Regions from separate parts of the Homo sapiens genome. Here region 1 is linked to region 2. The links are contacts of gene promoters, found by promoter capture Hi-C in blood cells and fetal thymus (Javierre and others, 2016). All regions are on one chromosome and are shown on one strand. The core of a region is centred on a gene start or on the middle of the fragment in contact, and the rest is flanking DNA. Distances in the headings are between cores, read along the strand shown. Region 1 overlaps ATP13A3 (ATPase 13A3). Region 2 holds the start of CPN2 (carboxypeptidase N subunit 2).

Evidence for each region. Contacts are between HindIII fragments. The CHiCAGO score rates a contact against its expected background, and 5 or more counts as called.
Region 1: a contact is called between a fragment that was not itself captured here and the fragment with the promoter of CPN2 in region 2, in 2 of 17 cell types (megakaryocytes and naive CD4 T cells). The highest score is 6.0, in megakaryocytes.

The regions. Positions count from the first base shown.
Region 1 is chr3:194,401,717-194,408,442 of GRCh38, reverse strand. It overlaps ATP13A3 (ATPase 13A3), which reads left to right. Exons shown (of 34, transcript NM_001367549.1): 34 at 2,327-5,766. The coding sequence ends at 2,524. Among named protein-coding and RNA genes, the nearest start is that of GP5, 5.8 kb to the right of the region's middle. The HindIII fragment of the contact is 183 bases long and covers 5,172-5,354 here.
Region 2 is chr3:194,345,787-194,352,840 of GRCh38, reverse strand. CPN2 (carboxypeptidase N subunit 2) reads left to right here and starts at 1,513. Exons shown (of 2, transcript NM_001080513.4): 1 at 1,513-1,599. RefSeq lists an enhancer at 1,188-2,037. The HindIII fragment of the contact is 6,903 bases long and covers 1-3,789 here.

The DNA of each region.
Region 1 (6,726 bases), core at 4,014-6,513, 52 kb before region 2:
CTGGCAGACTCTTTGGACAGACAAGTCCTATTATGTTTCTGCTTTTTTAAAAAAAGTCAGCAGTCAACATTAGTTTATTTCCTGTGGTAATCTAACAGTGCTACTTAAAAGTGACAGCTTTTGGCCAGGTGCGGCGGCTTATGCCTGTAATCCCACCAGCACTTTGGGAGGCTGAGGTGGATGGATCACGGGGTCAGGAGATCGAGACCATCTTGGCCAACGTGGTGAAACCCCGTCTCTACTAAAATACAAAAAATTAGCCGGGCGTGGTGGCGCGTGCCTGTAGTCCCAGCTACTTGGGAGGCTGAGGCAGGAGAATCGCTTGAACCCGGGAGACAGTGGTTGCAGTGAGCTTAGATCACGCCACTGCACTCCAGCCTGGCGACAGAGCAAGACTCCGTCTCAAAAAAAAAAAAAAAAAGGTGACAGCTTTCGAATTGATTTAGGAACAGTGGTTTTTTTCCCACAATTAGATTGACAAATGACACCTTGGGAGAAAAGTAAGATCCAAGTAGTAAACTGTCATCTCAGATGAAATATTACGTTTGTTGTGTGCCTATACTGGAAAGGCATTATCTGTTATTTTGGATCACTTGAAGAATCCTATACATAGTGACTTCTGTACCTTAATGCTAAATATTTTCCTGTGGACTTTTTTTTTAAGGTGATGCTGATATAACTCTCTTTAGTTATGACAGTAAAAAGGCTACTAGGCGAGTAATCTTCAGACTTTCCCCGTCCCCACCCCAGAATGCCACGTAGCTTACTTTTGTCCACCTTTTTTGCCTTTAAATTCTTGGTAGCAGTGCAGCTGATTGTGTTTTGTTGACAGGCTTAAGCTAGCAGACCTTTAACATTGAGAGCGGTGAGTCACGTTTACCGTGCTCTCAGCGGGGCCAGGGAGGAGAGGGAGAGAGTGGTAGGTTCCTGATGGTTGTTTCAACTGGATGAGAAAGAGCTACCAAGTTAATATGAAAAAGCTTTAAGAGCTTTAATTTTAAAGTATTTTTGCTCTTCTCCATTGGCCAATTTAGAAACATGTTTCAAAATACATCTATAGCTAACTTGCCTTTTTAAATCATGAGGCATTTTGGGTAACATTAGAATATGTAGCTCAGTTATGTTCTACTCTACCTTGTGAGATTACTGCATTTAGAGCTAGTTGTAGCCTGGTTTATATGTTGATTGGCAAAACAAAATGACCTGGAATTTAAATTTCATTTTGGAGAAGCAACAGCCAAAATCATTACGAAGTGGCTGTTCTTTAGAAGTAAATATAACTACTACGAGTCCTGGTGTAGTCATTTATATTTATTTCAAATTTCAATTGAGACAAATTCTGAGGGCCCTTTTCAGCCCTCTATTGAGTTTACATTTCTATGCATTAACCAGGGACTCTGCTTTCTTGTTCTCCAAGGATCATTTATCTAAGGCCAAATTCACTAAAAACATCAGGATTGATCAGAAGGATTTCAGTGACAGCAGAGCTTTTTGCAATGAAATAATACTAAGCAATAGTACTTGTTTTATACCCCTTTCCAGTCGTGGAGCACCGACGGAAACCATCATTATAAAACAGTATTGTTTTTTATATTAGTAAGGATGAGGTTTTAAAAGACGTAATTGACATTAAACATGATTGAAGCCCTAATTTTGACCAAACGATATTTACTTCATGTTTTGAGAGATGATATTAACAGTAACAAGGATACTTGTACACAGCTTTCTTCCAAAAATGATCATGCGGCTAAGTTGCCAGGAGCAATAGTACCAAAAGATAGTTTGGGACAGAATGTGAAGATTTTCAAATTAAATATTAAAAATGTTTTCTCTTTCTGAATGGCTTAAAGTTCTTAATACATTAGATATTCTGTGGTAAAGAATCCATATCTGCAAGTTATTTAAAAGGTATTAGTACACAAGAGTATAGGTATATAAAACTAAATGAAGTCAATCATATTGATTATCCCCCCAAAAAAAATATAATCTAAAGAATAATCAGTTCCTAAATAATTGAAAGCTGCCCTTACAAAATAAAACAAAAGAACACACATTTCGTTGTGTTGCCCAGGCTGGTCTCGAACTCCTGGGCTCAAGCAGTCCTCCCACCTCGACCTCCCAAGATGCTGGGATTTCGGACATGAGCCACCACGCCCGGCCAAAGCTGCCTTTTTTTAACATGGATTTTTTTTTCCCCCATTCGTTGTGCTCAGAAGTCATTTCCTCTTATTTTTCTCTGCTAATGTGTGCTTTAACAAACCTGTTTAAAACGACAAGCCTTTAATCAACTGGGGTGTTTTGTTTTGTTTTTTTCTTATTTTCTTAGGAGTCAGTGGATCGGTGGGGAAAATGCTGCTTACCCTGGGCCCTGGGCTGTAGAAAGAAGACACCAAAGGCAAAGTACATGTATCTGGCGCAGGAGCTCTTGGTTGATCCAGAATGGCCACCAAAACCTCAGACAACCACAGAAGCTAAAGCTTTAGTTAAGGAGAATGGATCATGTCAAATCATCACCATAACATAGCAGTGAATCAGTCTCAGTGGTATTGCTGATAGCAGTATTCAGGAATATGTGATTTTAGGAGTTTCTGATCCTGTGTGTCAGAATGGCACTAGTTCAGTTTATGTCCCTTCTGATATAGTAGCTTATTTGACAGCTTTGCTCTTCCTTAAAATAAAAACAGAAAAATATATCGTCCTAACAGTTAAATTAACAATCAATCCATAAAGTCCTATATCTTCATTCAGCAACCCAAATATTACATACATTTCCAGAATTTTCTTGATTGTTACTTTCAGTGATATTCTTTATATTGGGTACAGGAGAAGTTTGGTGTTTGGTAGGTTTTTCAACATTAGTTTTTGAGACTAGTTTACCTCTTCACATTTATGCTCACAACCCTCTTGTTAGAAAAGTCTGTGTTTATATACAGGCTGTAAGTTTGTGATTGATAAAAAGAAGATGAGTGTTAATTAGCCTCCAGTGAAAATATACTGAAAGCCTGTTTTCATTTGATTCCAATGTTTCTTCCAAAGAATTCTGTATAAACATATGCCAATTCCCTATGATGGTCTAGAGTTAGGAATGAGTGTTTATGGTGTTGCTTATAGAACAACTCAGGTAATCTCCATTTCTGGTTTTATATTTTCTGTACAAACTGCCTGGGTTTTATTTTTCTAATCAGCAAGGTGCTTCACTGCCTTCTTGAGACGCCTCTCAAAGCTCTTAAATGGCTCCTGTGCTATGTGTGGTGTTGGCAGTCTAATTTGCTTCTGTTAAATGTTGTAGAACCTTTTTCACTAGGAAATAAGATTCATTTCTTTCGGCAGTAGATGTAGATTCATCTTTTAACGTTTCTTCAAATTTGTTTCTGTCAGGCTTTGTGTTATTTTAAATGGTTTTTTAAAATTTTCTTCTATGTTTTCAATTACCTAAAGACATAGGATAATAGTTTTTTTTAAGTTAGAATTTTACCTCATAAAATTTTTTGAGGTTTGATGTATGTCTCTGTCTTATCAATAATGAGGCTTAAAAAATACTGGATTTGAATGGCTGCCGTTTTTTCAAAGCAATATGAATTTGATGAGTTTGTTTTATGCCATTAGGTGGCGCCAGAGGTCAGAACATGTCTATTTTGAATTGGATCGTTACAAATGAGCATATTTGATGCGGAAATTTCTGGGAGAAAAAAAATTGAGGAAATAAAGTTAAAAAATTGACATTCATTGAGCCAAAAGAGATGTGGAGAAACATTTTTCACCTTTCTGTTTGGCCTGATTAACATTTAAATTCTTGCCAAAATTAAGGTAACTTTTAAAAAACACCTTTTATAGGTGGATCCAGCAGTCTGGCAACGCCCACAGTTACCACAACACAGAAAACTGATCGTGCTATAAAATGGACGCTAAACTATGAAAACAGTGTGACATTGTTCTCTGTTCTTCCAGAGCCAGTAACATGCTTGCTCGTGCTTTCTACTTCTAGCTGATCATTCTTTTCCCAACATATATTTACAAATTTACCAAATTTTACCTAGAATTTTAGGACCAAATGGTTCTCACTCTTTATGCTGCAAAGACCTGGATGATGTTTGGTAACTATAGAAAAATAGAAATTACACTCAGGATCACTGTTACTGCTATTGCCACTGATGATTCCTGCAAAAATATAATCGAAGTTTTCCATCAAATGTATAATATGCTATTAATACACATTAGATGATAACAGTTGTTCCATGAATGATTCTATGAAGCTATGCATCTTAGACCTCTTGAGCTGTGAATTAGCACTATTTTCTATAGTTACTTATTCTCTGGATCATTTTATAATTTCCATATTAATTTCAAATATGCTCGTGTTATTCTTCAGTGATTTCCACAATTGTGCATTTTATTCTTTGGTTTAAGTACTGAAGCATATAATGAAAGTAATTGCTAAGTAGCAGCTTAAAAATTCAATTATCCGATTGTATTTAACATCTTTAAGAGCATGATCATAAAGAGCTATTTTTGACACCCCCCCCCCACTTTTTTAACATTTAGAGTTAGTAAGGGTTTTATATCTCTTCTGTCCATATTGTTTTCAAAGGAATGAGGTGTTTAGGTGGCTGGAAAAGCATTTGTAGGAAGTTAGATTTGAATATAGACAAGGTGGGTTATTCACGTTGAGAATGTTATTTGAAGAATGCCTGTGAAGCCAGGTGTGGGTTCTACTCAGTGCCATAGATAGACTGAGTCTTCTCTCGTAGGTTACCATTACATAGTAATTTTGATTCTGAATTTCACATTAAATTATTTGAGTTTATACAGACCTAAATTTTAAAATCTGTACATATATTATTTTGATGTATTAAGATGAATATTGCTGATTTAAATTTTATTTATGCACATACTTAAAGGACAGAAATGTCTGGGAAAGTAATTGTTAAATAATGATATGTAACTTTTTAACTTTTTAAATAAATAACAAGATTTTTAATGTGTGTCTCCCTCAGGGTTGTTTAAAGTTTTTTTTCTCCCTCAAGTATAAATAGTGGTAACTATATGTTTTGTATCTTCTAGCACCAACTGCTGTAAAGCAATGCTGCAAATAATGCTTGAATACAAGTGGCTAAGCCAACAACAGAATAAATACTTTTATAGTAGTTTTATAATCCTGAAATTCGAAAGCTTTCCCAATTGCACTTGCATCTAAACAAAACTGTTGCAGTTTTTACTCTATTTATTTTGTTCCCCATGTTTATGAAAGTCCTGCACAGTTTCAAAGGCATGGTAAATAATATATCAATGTTTATGTAGTCTGTTACAGAAACAGCTATAGATAACATTATCCAGTGAAGAGCAAAATTCAAGCTTTAGAAAATATTCATGCATGCAATTTTGACATATCTAAAAATAGGTTTTTGTATATTTATGGTGGGAGGTGGTTGGGAACTTTTAACAAAATGGGGTGTTAATTTTTGTACAGTCTGTGGGCATTTACACATTTTTAATGTATTAAAATTTGGTAATTATGTGTACATTAAATTAATAAAAGTTACTTCTAGTTATGATTTGTGAATTCCCTAAGACCTTGGATTTTTTTAAGTAACTTTATATCAGAAATGATACTGCATCTTTATATTTTTAAAATTGTATTGCTGCTCAAGAATGGTACCCTCTTGTCAAAAAGGCATACATTCATAATTGTACATTCAGCATTGTAAATAATCTTATGAAACCTTTTTTGATTGAAGCTATTCAAAATAAAAATTTTAATGAATGAAATAACACTTTTTTTCTGTGTCTTTATTCATTTGTTTGCTTTTTAGTGACATGAATACTGCCCTTTGTGGATTTATTTTCCTGCCTAATAATACTTCCCCATTTCCTTCTTTTTTTTTTTTAAAAAAAACTGGATTTTGAAGGAAATAAGAACAACATTCTGCATATCATGCCATGTGTGTGAGCATCCTGGGGAAACCCCACAGTCGGATGCAGTGTAGAGCCAAATGTTAAATGCGAGGAGGTCTGAGGGCAATGGTGAAATGAAATAGAAGAGTAGGGACTTATAATCTATTAATAGTTGGGAGAATCAAACCAAAAGCTAATACCATGGAGAGAGAAAATGGTTGTAAAAATCCCAGAGAAGACAGGACCTTTGTGTGTGGGTGGGAGTTGTTTCCATGGAGCTCAGCTCCGGGAGACACGGAGCCCCTGCTAGGGAATATGTGGCTGGCTGTGGTGTGATGAATTCGGGGGGTGAGGGCCTGCCTGCCTTTAGCTCAAGTTCTTAACAGTCGCTATGGTTTGTGCGGCATGTGTGATCCTGTCCCCACAGCCTGCTGGTGTGGGCACAGTTCTGCATGTCTCTCCTTCCGCTGTATCACTGCCAAGGGACAGGGAGTCCTAGGGGCTTGAGTGAGACTGTCCGTGGTCCAAGTTGGGGTGTGGTTGCTCCCTGCTGTGCCCGGCCCACTGAGTCTCCCTCAGAGGAAAAAGGCTTATCTCACCCAGGCACAGACCTGCTTTTGAATAGCCAAGCCCCTTAAGCCAGGTAACTGTTTTACAGCAGACTTCTGACCTGGTAATGGATACAGAATCTTAAGACTTGGAAGCACTGGAGCTGTCAACTTCCTTGCTCCAAATACTTCTCATTACCTCATCAACTTGCTCAGTGGATGGACTAAGAGTGTTCCCCCACTCTGCAACTGCCATACCTACTTTTCCCTTCCTGGACAATCAAAG
Region 2 (7,054 bases), core at 264-2,763:
CTGCACACACGCACACCCACCCATTCACCACACACACCACACACCCACACACTGCACACACACACCCACTCACCACACACATACACCCACACACCCACTCACTGCACACTCACACCCACTTACCACACATTTTCTCACACACTCTCATTCTACACACACGAGACATACTCATGCATATACACACCCACTTATACCACACACACCCCTACACCCACTTACACACACCCACTCACACATACACCCACTTACACACACTGCACACCTACACACACGCACTCACCACACACACCCCTACACCCATTCACACATATACCCACTCACACCCCCCACACCCACACGCACGCACTCACCAAACACTCCCCTACACCCACTTACATACCCATTCACACATACACCCACTTACACACGCACTCACCACACACACCGCTACACCCATTCACACATATACCCATTTACACACACACACCCCACACCCACACGCATGCACTCACCAAACACTCCCCTACACCCACTTACACACGCACTCACCACACACACCTTTACACCCACTCACACATACACCCACTTACACACACATCACACATGTGCTCTCACCACACACACTCCTACACTCACATACACACGCCCACTCACATATACACCCTCTTTACATACCACACCCCCACACACGCACTCACCACACACACCCCTACACCCACTCACACATACACCCACACACGCACCCACACACGCACTCACCACACACACACCCTACCCACGCGCGCACACACCCACTCACACATACACCCACTTACACACACAACACACCCCCACACATGCACTCACCACACACCCCCTACAGCCACTCACATTTACACCCACTTACATGCACACCCCCAGATGCACGCACTCAGCACACACACACTCCGTGTGTCTTGCAGCCCTGGTTCCACACCTCCGGAGATGGGAAAATCCCTCCCTTCCAAAGCAGCATCTTTCGTCCTCGGCCAGCCCTGAGTGTGTGAGCGCTCCTCTCCATATTGGGCCCCAATTCATCTCCCTATAGCTTTTCCCCCTTCTAATTCAGGAAGGGTTTAGAAAGTTCATTCATTAAACAAGCAAACAAACACAACAAGACAAAACAACAAATCCACAGCCCTCTTGAAATGCCTCCGGGCGCTGAGAGCCCAGCAGGGGCCTGAGGCTGAAGGCAGGCTCCCAGTCCCTCTGCCTCTGCTCACAGGTATGGGTGTGAGCGTGGACCCCATCCCAGGCCTCACCAACCCAGCCGCCTGCGGGAATCTCTAGAGCTTTCTGAGTGTCCTCGGGGTCCTGAAGGTGCCAACCCTGCAACCTCGGTGGGATTTTGGCCCCGGCAGGGCTCTGTACATGGGAGGAGTTCAGGGTCATTTTGTAATCTTCAGAGGCCTTGCCAAGGCCCTCTCCCGTCCTGTGACCCTGGTGACATTCTGGGACGCTGGGGCCACGTGAGGGGAGGAACCACTGCCTGGAACTTTGATCAGCGCTGGGGCTGGATTGAGCTGACCACAGGCCACACCAGACTCCTCTCTGCTCCTGAGGAAGACAGGGCAGCCCGGCGCCACCCGCTCGGCCCTCACGGTAGGCTCCCGGGGTCGCTGAAGGGCTCCAGGGTCTGCAGGGACGTGGGGGCAGGAACGGGAACTTGCGATCTCCCCCGTTTCAGAGCATTCCGCAGCTCCAGGCAGGCTGCGGTTCTGGGGGGCCCCTGCCCCGGGAGGAGAAGTCCCTGAGGTGCTCAGCTAGGGCGCTGCTGGGAAGAGGCAGGAGGAAGGTGGGGCGGGGGTTTGTGAGATGAAGATCTGCCAGTCCTGGCCTACAAGGCTGGTAGTGAGTAGAGGATAAGCAGGGTGACCAGATGTCCAGGTTGGCCTGGTTCTGCCTAGTTTATACTTGTCATCTTGGCATAATAATAATAAATAGTATTACTAATTACTTATTAATCCTATATTAATACTAAATATTATTAATTATTTATTAATATAATTATTGTTTTTTGAGATGGGGGTCTTGTTATGTTGCTCAGGCTGGTCTTGAACTCCTGGCTTCAAGCGATCCTCCCACTCAGCCTGCTGAGTAGCTGGGATTACAAGCGCATGCCACAGCACCCAGCTCAGGCCCAAGGATGACTAGCTCCTGGTTTCCTTCCCAGAAGCGTGCTGGCTCATATAATAAAGTTTGTGGTGAAATAAACCTGCAGGGGGCCACCTTTTATTGAACATTCAGTATGTGCCAGGCGCTGTGTTAAGGGCTTTCTATTTACTATCTTATTTAGCCTATTTATCATCCAATGGAGTGCTAATTTGAACTCTGAGGGCAGAGGTGATAATTAAGTCTGGAAAACCTGAGGCTTAGAGAGTTGGAGTGATTTGCACAAGCCCACACCGCTAGTAGGTGATGGCGTCAGAATCTGATCCCAGCTGGGGGCACTGGCGGAGCTAAAGTGCTTTCCCCTGCTACTAAGCAGGATGAGAGTAAGGCCTGAGATGCGAAGTCACTGAAAGCCACAAACACATTCCTTCAATTCAGCACACAGGGCCTGACTGCCTTCTCAGTGCCTGGCCCCGAGCCAGGTGCTGGGGTGCAGAGCTGCTTGCAGAGACACCACAGCAAGACTGCAGTACCACGGGCTCAGTCGGGTGGGTGCAACTGACTAGAAAACAGAGCGGAAGAGCCCAAACATTCAACACAGTACAAGAGGGATCCGAGGACCCAAGAAAGGGCCGAGCGCGGTGGCTCACGCCTGTAATCCCAGCACTTTGGGAGGCCGAGGCAGGCGGATCACCTGAGGTCAGGAGTTCGAGACCAGCCTGGCCAACACAGTGAAACCCCATCTCTACTAAAAATACAAAAATTAGCCAGATGTGGTGGCAGGCGCCTGTAATCCCAACTACTCGGGAGGCTGAGGCAGGAGAATCGCTTGAACCCGGGAGGCAGAGGTTGCAGTGAGCAGAGATGGCGTCACTGCACTCCAGCCTGGGAAACAAGAGTGAAACTCTGTCTCAAAAAAAAAAAAAAAAAAAAAAAAAAAAAAAAAAAAAAAAGAAGAGGGTAGTCAGGAAGGCTTCATGGGGGAAGTGTGACTTGCACTGGACTGGGAGGGTGGGTATAAATTGGGAGGGTCGCATAGTGCCCAGTTCACAACGGCCTCTTAGTTCAACCTGTCAGCTGTCTTCTCTTCCAGAAGCTAACACAGAGGATAGACAAGCTCCCTCGGGCCTTTGCAACATCACTGCCAGGAAGGAAAGAGTCAAGTAAGCCCCTACTGTGTGTGTGGAACTGTGCTGTGCATTTTACATGTTTATCTCAATATTTAGAATAAAATAGGTTTCAACCTTACTGCAAAAGTGATATGTTTCTTACTTAAAAATGTGGAACATATATTTTTAAGCAGAAGGAAAAAATTAAAATCATCCACAATTCAATTTTTCAGAGGTAATGACTACAAATTTTTTTCTTTTGAGATGGAGTTTCTCTCTTGTTGCCCAGGCTGGAGTGCAATAGTGCGATCTCGGCTCACTGCAACCTCCGCCTCCCGGGTTCTAGCGATTCTCCTGCCTCAGCCTCCCGAGTAGCTGGGATTACAGGCGCACACCACCACGCCCAGCTAATTTTTGTATTTTTGGTAGAGACGGGGTTTCATCATGTTGGCCAGGCTGGTCTTGAACTCTTGATCTCAGGTGATGCTCCCGCCTCAGCCTCCCAAAGTGCTGGGATTACAGGTGTGAGCCACAGTGCCAGACCCCACCACAAATATTTTGTACATAAGCTTCTATTATGTTTTCTGTGTACAAATACACCTTAAAAATGGAAAAGCAGCATTCTGAGACTTCATATATTTCACTTAAGATATTGCAAACATCTTGTCCATAAATACACATCTATAATAAATTTTCTTTTTGTTTAAAATTTTATCTTTTATTCTATTTTTTTGAGACAAGGTCTCCCCCTTCTCACGCTGGAGTGCAGTAGAGCAATCACCCACTCATTGCAGCCTCGACCTCCCAGTCTCAAGCCGTCCTCCCACCTCAGCCTCTCGAGTAGTTGAGACTACAAGCATGCACCACTATGCTTGGGTAATTTTTATAATTTTTTGAAGAGATGAGATGTTACCATGTTGCCCAGGCTGATTTCAAACTCCTGGCCTCAAGCAATCCTCCTGCCTCTGCCGCCCAAAGTGCTGGGATGACAGGCATGAGCCACTGAACCCAGCCTGTAATATAATTTTAAACATAGCAGAGAGGGTTTCCATTACATCCGAGTAGCATGATTCATGTAACCAATCCCTCATGTTGGACATTTAGGTTGTTTCTATTTTCTTGCTGCGGCCCAATGCCTGTTCTCTCATTTGAGAGTCACAATAGCCCTAACCATGCCGGGACTGAGGTATTATGATGATTATTGTTATCATGGTCGTTCTTGGTTTACAGTCGCAGACTGGGACTCTGAGAGGTGGCTTCACTCCCTGGGACACAACTGGGCAGAGGATGGGGTGGGCTGAACTGGGCAGCGGATGGGGTGGGATGAACTGGGCAGAGGGTGGGGTGGGCTGAACTGGGCAGCGGATGGGGTGGGCTGAACTAGGCAGAGGATGGGGTGGGCTGAACTGGGTGGGGGTGGTGGGCTGAACTGGGCAGCGGGTGGTGTGGGCTGAACTGGGCAGAGGATGGGGTGGGCTGAACTGGGCAGCGGATGGGGTGGGATGAACTGGGCAGTGGGTGGTGTGGGCTGAACTGGGCAGAGGATGGGGTGGGCTGAACTGGGCAGCGGATGGGGTGGGCTGAACTGGGCAGAGGGTGGGGTGGGCTGAACTGGGCAGCGGATGGGGTGGGCTGAACTAGGCAGAGGATGGGGTGGGCTGAACTGGGCGGGGGTGGTGGGCTGAACTGGGCAGCGGGTGGTGTGGGCTGAACTGGGCAGAGGATGGGGTGGGCTGAACTGGGCAGCGGATGGGGTGGGATGAACTGGGCAGTGGGTGGTGTGGGCTGAACTGGGCAGAGGATGGGGTGGGCTGAACTGGGCAGCGGATGGGGTGGGCTGAACTGGGCAGAGGGTGGGGTGGGCTGAACTGGGCAGAGGGTGGGGTGGGCTGGCCAGGGCAGCAGATGGGGTGGGCTGAACTGGGCAGAGGGTGGGGTGGGCTGAACTGGGCAGCGGATGGGGTGGGCTGAACTGGGCAGAGGGTGGGGTGGGCTGGCCAAGGCAGGAGCAGAGGCTAGAACCCAGTGCAAACCTGACCGTCTCAGCCACTGGACTTACGTTGCTGGATTGAGAAGAGAGGGGACCAGGCTTGGGGAGCAGCCAGGGACTCTGGATAAGTCTCAGAAGCCCCTCTTTGTGCTTCCAGCTGAGCTGGAGCCCAAATGGCCAAATCCAGGCCCGTTGGTGAGGCAGACATCCATGGAGCCAGCGTCGGGTGGCAGTCCCTGGGTGTCTGGGGCCAGGGTTCTAGGCCCCATTCTAGGTCCCATCACCCTCTGGAAGAAGTGAGGCTTAGCTCTGTGGTGGATGACAGACTGGCTTGAGGCATGCACAGAAACGTACCCTCCCATAAGCAATGTGAGGAGAGGAAGGAGCTCATTTGCACCCAGCCAAACCTTCCCTATCCCTCAAAAAAAAAAAACCCCATTTAAAAAGCCAGACTTCCTTGGCTTGCCGAAAGTGTGGAACATATTTGTGGGCATTTGATGGTCTTATTCCCAGATGAGGAGCAGAAAACCTCTGGCTGCCACCCCACTGTGGCCCTGGGGGCCAGCCTCCCCAGTTCCCAGGGAGGGGCGCGTCCATCTCCAGAGCTCCCCAGTGACCTGCTTTCTTGAGGCCAGGCTGGGGAAGGGGCCAAGGCCAGAGCTCCCAGTCAGAGCCCTCAGAATCTCTGCTCCCCTAAACCTTCTAGCTCTTTCCCTTGGCTGGAGGAAAGAGCTAGAAGGAGTGCTGTGGAGAGGCGTCTCATTGGCTCACAGTGGGGTGGTTGGATGATCTCATGGGTTTCTCCCTAGCTAACCCATGACTGCTTCAGCACAGAGCTGGGGCTGCACTGCTCGGAAGATCAGGGTCACTAACGTTGCCACGCATTTGCCATGTGCCAGGCCCTGAGCTTAGAGCTTTCCATGCGTTTTCTCATTCCATCCTCATAACATCCTCATCAGGAAGGTAGTAGTGTGCTCATTGTTTGGAAGAGGAGGAAAGCAAAACACAGAGAGGTTAAGCAATGCAGTCAAAGCCACAGAGCTAAGCTGGAGGGGAGTTAGGATTTGAACCCAGGCTGTCTGACTCGTAGCCACTCCCGAGTGAGGTGAGGATGGGGCTCGGGCTGAGAGTGGACCGTCTGGAAATTGTCAGTGTTCTGCGCCCTCACTGTGAGAACCATCCCTGCCTCCCTGCTCCCTGCCCCAGTAGACCCAGGCAAGAGGGGTCTTGCCCTGAACTTTAGAGGGCCCTGTTCTGGCCCTCCTCCCCCAGTGATACCACCCACAAGGGGTGCCAAGGGCACATGTCCGTCTGGAGGCTGTGCCCCCATTTTAAACCATGCTCTGGGTACCCAGGACCCCGGCCTCCGTGGGCTGCCTCCCCGGGTCCATCTTCCCTGCAGAGCCCGGGCTGTCAGGACTGGCCCTGGCCCCTCGCTTCTGTGTTGTGTTCCCTTGGGCCAGTCACTGTAGCTCCGGGAGCCCCAGTCTGCCTGCCCTGGGCACTTCTAGGTTTGCGCTGAGGATCAAGATGTATGTGCGGGAGCTTTGGGAACTGGCAGGTGGGAACTAACCCCTCAGCCAAACCCCCACATCAGGGAGATATCTCTCCCTCTGCCTGCATCTCCCGAGCCTTAGCTGATTTGCCTGTACTAGACTTTCTGTGCCACCAGTGCCATGGCTTTGATTCAAGGCTTGAATCCTAGAGCTCCTTCCTTTGTTGGAAATGTGTAAAGCACATTATTTCCAAAGACAACGGATGAAAAGTTAGAGGCACAGACCCAGGGAAGCCAGGGAGCAGCTCAGCTCGCTCCGCAGAGAGGTATCCTCACCCCAGTGGGCTCGAG